2 separate regions of the Homo sapiens genome follow, and region 1 is linked to region 2. The links are contacts of gene promoters, found by promoter capture Hi-C in blood cells and fetal thymus (Javierre and others, 2016). All regions are on one chromosome and are shown on one strand. Each heading gives the region's core, a stretch centred on a gene start or on the middle of the fragment in contact. The rest is flanking DNA. Distances are from core to core; before and after follow the strand shown. Region 1 has its middle 210 kb from the start of LINC02344. Region 2 holds the start of RFXAP (regulatory factor X associated protein).

The links. Contacts are between HindIII fragments. The CHiCAGO score rates a contact against its expected background, and 5 or more counts as called.
Region 1: a contact is called between a fragment that was not itself captured here and the fragment with the promoter of RFXAP in region 2, in 2 of 17 cell types (non-activated CD4 T cells and total CD4 T cells). The highest score is 8.6, in non-activated CD4 T cells.

The regions. Positions count from the first base shown.
Region 1 is chr13:33,542,265-33,545,360 of GRCh38, forward strand. It overlaps a transcript of STARD13 not described here. Among named protein-coding and RNA genes, the nearest start is that of LINC02344, 210 kb to the left of the region's middle. RefSeq lists enhancers at 543-642, 743-852. The HindIII fragment of the contact is 1,343 bases long and covers 979-2,321 here.
Region 2 is chr13:36,817,760-36,820,476 of GRCh38, forward strand. RFXAP (regulatory factor X associated protein) reads left to right here and starts at 1,463. Exons shown (of 3, transcript NM_000538.4): 1 at 1,463-2,198. The coding sequence starts at 1,599. It overlaps LOC124903158 (a long non-coding RNA gene), which reads right to left and starts at 1,312. Exons shown (of 2, transcript XR_007063760.1): 1 at 408-1,312. RefSeq lists a silencer at 1,381-1,750 and enhancers at 1,981-2,030, 2,041-2,270. The HindIII fragment of the contact is 8,641 bases long and covers 1-2,717 here.

The DNA.
Region 1 (3,096 bases), core at 400-2,899, 3.3 Mb before region 2:
GGAAGGCTGGGTCCATCTTAGCACTGAGACCGCACCCAGACTGCATTTGGATCGCTAAGGACTAAGAAAACAGTACAGATCCAGTTTTACCTCTTATACCATTAATTTTCCATAAAGCCTTCCAGAAACCTGACTCACAGCCAGAAACCCAAACCCCGTGGGCGGGATTTAAAACAAAACCCATTACGCCACCATTTCCGCCTTGCCTGCCTAGCAAACGTGCAAACATTGAAAAAGACGCACACGCAGACCGCGCCTACGTCCCCAAAGTGCGCAAGCGCACGGCGAGACCCCGCCCCTCGCCCTCCCACCAAGACGAGGCGCGCGCACCAGCAACCAGGGCCCGCTGGCGCCGCCCCGGGTTTCCGCTCCGGGGCTCGTCGGTCGCCGTTCGGTTCCGGTTCTGGCCCCGCCCTCACGCGGGAACCCTCCAGAAGTCTTAATATCCGGGACCAGAGGCTGGTTGCAGCGCACATTTCCGGCAACGAGCGCAAAGGAAGGGATCCGGTGACGCCTCTTCCCGTCTCCCCAGCGGCCCAGGCTCTGGCTCTCGGTGCGGCAGCGCCATCTGGTGCCGAGTCTCCCGCCACCCGCGGAGGTGGCACGCGCCCTTCTCTCGGAACCTTCCAGAGAAACCGTGGCCCCTGCTTTCCTTTCTCCCGCCCTGGACGGGGAGGGACCCGAGTCTCCGCCCCGCCGAGTTCCCGCGCGGGAGGGACTTTGTGGCGACTCTGAAGCGGAAGCTGCCTGTAGGAGGAGCTTTACAAACCCAAAATGGAGCGGAAACTGTTCTTTCTCTAGTTTTAAGTCCAGAAGAAACGGCGTCCTTTTATTTTTTGCTTCCTTATGCGTTGTTGCTGGGTCATTCTCAGTCTTCCCCGTATCAGTTCTTTAATCTTTGAGGACTGGGACCCTGTATTAATTGCCTGGTAGGAAGATGACACGAGCTTTGTGGCTTACATTGGCCTCTGCTGTAAAAGCTTTTGTTTCCTTTGGCCTATTAAAGCGCTGTTGTAAAAGCCTGCTGTGTATGTTAGGAACCCATCGAGAAGCAGAATGTAGTAATTTGCTTTAAAATAGGCCATGGAAGTTTCAGAAAGGTAGCCTCAGAAATGCTCAATGTAGATTCGTTTGCATGTCACGTTTCTTTTAGATAATCAGAGAAAGGAAAAGTAATTTCCCCAAAGTTAGTAAAATCAACACATTTTCCTTTAATAATGTTCTTTTTTTCCTGTAATCTTGGAGTACTAACAGAGTTGTTCTAAATGTTTTATTGGAATGGTGCTGTGGATATCAAAATATATAATGAAACAAATTTCCTTTAGAGTTTAGATAGCACATGTTAACTTGACTCTTTGATTGTATTTCTCCTATAGTAATGCTTCTCAAACTGGAGCATGCATCCAGATTCTCTAGAAGGCTTGTTAAAACAGATTGCTGGGCCTCAACACCAGAGGTTATAACTGGGAGGGAAGGTCTGAGGATACAGCTGGATTAGTGTAGCTCTAGTAAAATCTCAGGTGATTCTGATGCTGTTGGTACTAGGACCACACCTGGAATAATTTAGAGTTCAGGATTGCTTTGTCAATAATGCTTTTTGCTGTTGCAGGACAGACGGTACTAAAATATACTGGTGATACTAAGCCTGCACAAGTTAGTAGTCCTTTTGACTCCGTGGATGGGAAGTAGTAAACTAAACCCTAGAACCAGTAGAGAGCTACATAAATGTTCACAGATTAAAGCAACCAGTTCATAGAAATGTATTCTGTATATGATCATGTGATAGAGGGTGCTGTAATACCAAGTATACTAAATATTTCAGTTATTATACAGTAATTGTTCTTTAGCTGTTAAATTAGAAATGACTAAAATTAAGGACAAAATAGTTTAAACAATCATACTAATTTTACCCTTTGGAAGATGCCAGGTTTTTTTCAGTCTTTTGCATTTCCTCAAGTTCCCTTGTTTTACGGAATTCTCTACCCCCAGCCCACTCCCATCCCTACCGTGCCATTTATAAATGTACACAGTGCTTACATTATAAAAAATGATCATCTCAGAACTTGTCTCATCTTTTCAGCAGGACTTTTCTCAATTCTGTCAAATTCTGACTGTGCCACTGCCTTTATTGACACAGTAATTAAATCACGCAGTGATTAAAGTGTGCTGCACACTGTAACTTTTGTGCTTGCTACAAATAGAAATACAGATATTGTTAGATAAGTTTATGTTTATGATAATCAGTTCCTAAAATGTAGAAAGCAGTCGGTTTTCTGGTCTCAGTTTTATTTAAATCACTGCTATTTTGTTTACTGGATGTAAGCTTCCCCCTCTCTGCTCTAGCCTGAATGGGCCTTCGTGAAAAGAAGAAAAAAAAGATTGAGAACAACTGTCTTAAAACCATGGTATTTCCCTAATAGGCTAGTACCATGTATTTGGATAATTACTGATGAATCATTTAAATCAGGGAAAGGTGCATGGTTTTGTTTTTTTGTTGTTTTTTCTCTTTTTTTTTTTTTTTTTTTTTGAGATGGAGGCTTGCTCTGTCGCCCAGGCTGGAGTGCAGTGGCCAGATTTCAGCTCACTGCAATCTCTGCCTCCCGGGTTCAAGCGATTCTCCTGCCTCAACCTCCTGAGTAGCTGGGACTACAGGCGTGTGCCACCACACCTGGCTAATTTTTTTGTTTTATTTATTTATTTATTTATTTGAGACGGGGTTTTGCTCTTGTTGCCCAGGCTGGGGTGCAATGGTGCGATCTCAGCTCATCACAACCTCTGCTCCCAGGTTCAAGTGAGTCTTCTGCCTCAGCCTTCCTGAGTAGCTGGGATTACAGGCATGTGCCACCATGCCTGGCTAAAATTTTGTATTTTCCTTAGTAGAGATCAGTTTTCTCCATGTTGGTCAGGCTGGTCTCGAATTCCTGACCTCAGGTGATCCACCCGCCTTGGCCTCTCAAAGTGCTGGGATTACAGGTGTGAGCCACCGCGCCTGGCCTAATTTTTTGTATTTTTAGTAGAGACGGGGTTTCACCGTGTTAGCCAGGATGATCTCGATCTCCTGACCTCGTGATCCGCCTGCCTCGGCTTCCCAAAGTG
Region 2 (2,717 bases), core at 213-2,712:
AAATTTAATCTTCATTAACATTTTCACTGTCACTTTCTTAAGTGCAGAGACAATCAGCAATAAGTGTAAACCTGCTTCGTAGCATTTGATCATTTCCCTGGTGTAAATACTCCAAAAGTGGCTGATTTCAAGCAATCAACATGACATACTGAAGGCAGAGTTGGGAAAATGTGCAGTAACACACCACTAAATAATATTTCCGCATACAGATACAATAGACATAAATAACCTTAAAAGCACAGATAATGATAAAACATAATAAAATAATTAGAAAATGAAGAGTTTTGAGATTTGTACCCTTTGTTTTTAATATAATCTTATTGTAAGTTTATGTAGTAAGACTTTTAATAATAGCAGTGTTTAATTTTTCTGCTAATTATATTCCTGAAATTTTAGCAACCAGTTACCATCAGTTGGCGCTAGCACACCACCGACTGCAGGCTTTACTGATGAGGAAACTGAGGCTCGGAGAGGCTGTCACGAACTTGCTGTAGTCACACAGGAAGTACTACCTAGGTTGCTCTAATTCCAAACCTTCTCCCTTCCATATGCCTCTCTTTAAAACATAACTGATCTACCTATATGTCAGCACCCAAACATCTTAGTGTGAATGGATTTATAGTTTGTTGAATAAAGTCATTGCTTTCCGGTAGGTGGGATGGGAAATCTGACTAGGCGAAAGAATAGGATGAAGGGAAAAAGAACATCTACTTAACAGTTCAGGATACGGCAGGATATTTTCTCTCCTGGGATTTGGGCAAGCCAAGATTTAACAACCAGCAATTGCCCAGCAACTGATAGAACTGGTAGAACATTCATTGTTTTTTTAAACGTTTGCCATTCAGTATTCCTTTTCACACATTTTCACTGTGTTAAACGAAAACGTTAAGACTTATCTCAGCAGCCACAGCAAAGAGCAAGTACTAACAATCAAGTGAGTTTCCAGGAGAAAAAAAACAAAGTTATCCCTCAATGCAAATACAACTCGGCCAAAGGTGTGGCCCATCCCTCTCCGCTCCACTATTTTCAAATAAGCCACCTCTGCCTTCATGGACTGCGAGCTAGTGACTCTAGGCTGTGACACCACTGCATCCCAGCTTCAAATCTCCCCTTGCAGGCAGTTTGTGGGGGAAATAATAAAATTAGCATCCTAACACTACAAGTCGTGAGACCGCTCAGGAACAATCCTAATTTGCATACTGGAACTCCTGTAGAAGATACTTTGAACCGCTTTAGATACAATAGGATCAGGTAAAACGGCGCTGCCTTGCCAGCCACTGCAGGTTTTCACCTGACACAGCCCCCAGACCCTGTCTACGAATCCCCCAGCTGGCCGAAGGGGCCGCGGCCGCACATGCGCAGTCAGTCCCGTTGGTTGTGCGCTCAGCCCCGCCCCCAGAGGCGCCGCGCTCCCTGACAGCCCGCGGGCGTACACACGCTGACGCGCAGGCTGCGGTCGCGCAGGCGCAGTCGGGGCGCCTTCCCGGTATAGGCGCCTTTTACCCCAGCGTGTCCTGAGTCTTTGGTTCGCGAAGTGCCGTTAGGCCAAGCAGGTGCTAAAAGCCCGGGGTCGTGGACCCCGGCCAGGTCTTAGCAGCATGGAGGCGCAGGGTGTAGCGGAGGGCGCGGGGCCGGGCGCCGCCAGCGGCGTGCCCCACCCCGCGGCCCTAGCCCCGGCTGCGGCTCCCACCTTGGCGCCAGCCTCGGTGGCGGCCGCGGCCTCTCAATTCACCCTGCTAGTGATGCAACCCTGTGCTGGGCAGGACGAGGCTGCGGCCCCCGGGGGCAGCGTTGGGGCGGGCAAGCCCGTTAGGTACCTGTGCGAAGGGGCCGGGGATGGCGAAGAGGAGGCTGGGGAGGACGAGGCGGACCTGTTAGACACTTCGGACCCTCCGGGGGGAGGCGAGAGCGCGGCTAGTTTGGAGGATCTAGAGGACGAGGAGACTCACTCGGGGGGCGAGGGCAGCAGCGGGGGCGCCCGGAGGCGGGGCAGCGGTGGGGGCAGCATGAGCAAGACCTGCACCTACGAAGGCTGCAGCGAGACCACGAGCCAGGTGGCCAAGCAGCGCAAACCGTGGATGTGCAAGAAACACCGCAACAAGATGTACAAGGACAAGTATAAAAAGAAGAAGAGCGACCAGGCCCTGAACTGCGGTGGGACTGCCTCGACTGGCAGCGCGGGAAACGTCAAACTCGAGGTATCAGACTTAGCTGAGGCCTGGGGATGGGAGGTGGAAGAAGAAACCCGATCTTAACGCAAACCGCATCTGCAGGGCCTGCCTCCCCACTTCCAAATGGGCCGGTTTGCAGTGACTGGGTTAGTGGTTGAGAATTAGAGTGTTTGCCCTAAATTAAAGTTTATACCAACATGTGCAAAGCAATAACAGTTCTGTTGAACTCATGATAGGTGCAGAAATTTCAGTAAAAATAATGTGACATCGGCAGAGCTGTCATAGATCTGGGATATGGCTGGAAGGACATAGAGTAAATGATCGGTCTGGTTCATCGCTAAAGGAGACTTAGGAACCTAGATGAAGTTGGTACTTCTGAGAAAGTCATCTCTTTCTGTTTTCACTACTCTATTCTCAGTATCCAGTTCTCAGTACCCAGTTCTCAGTACCTCTATTTGTAATACTCCTGTATTTAGTACTTTGTTTTTAGTGTCCTGTTCTGTTAACCCTCTTCCTAGTACCGTATTTTTAGTACTGCTATACTCA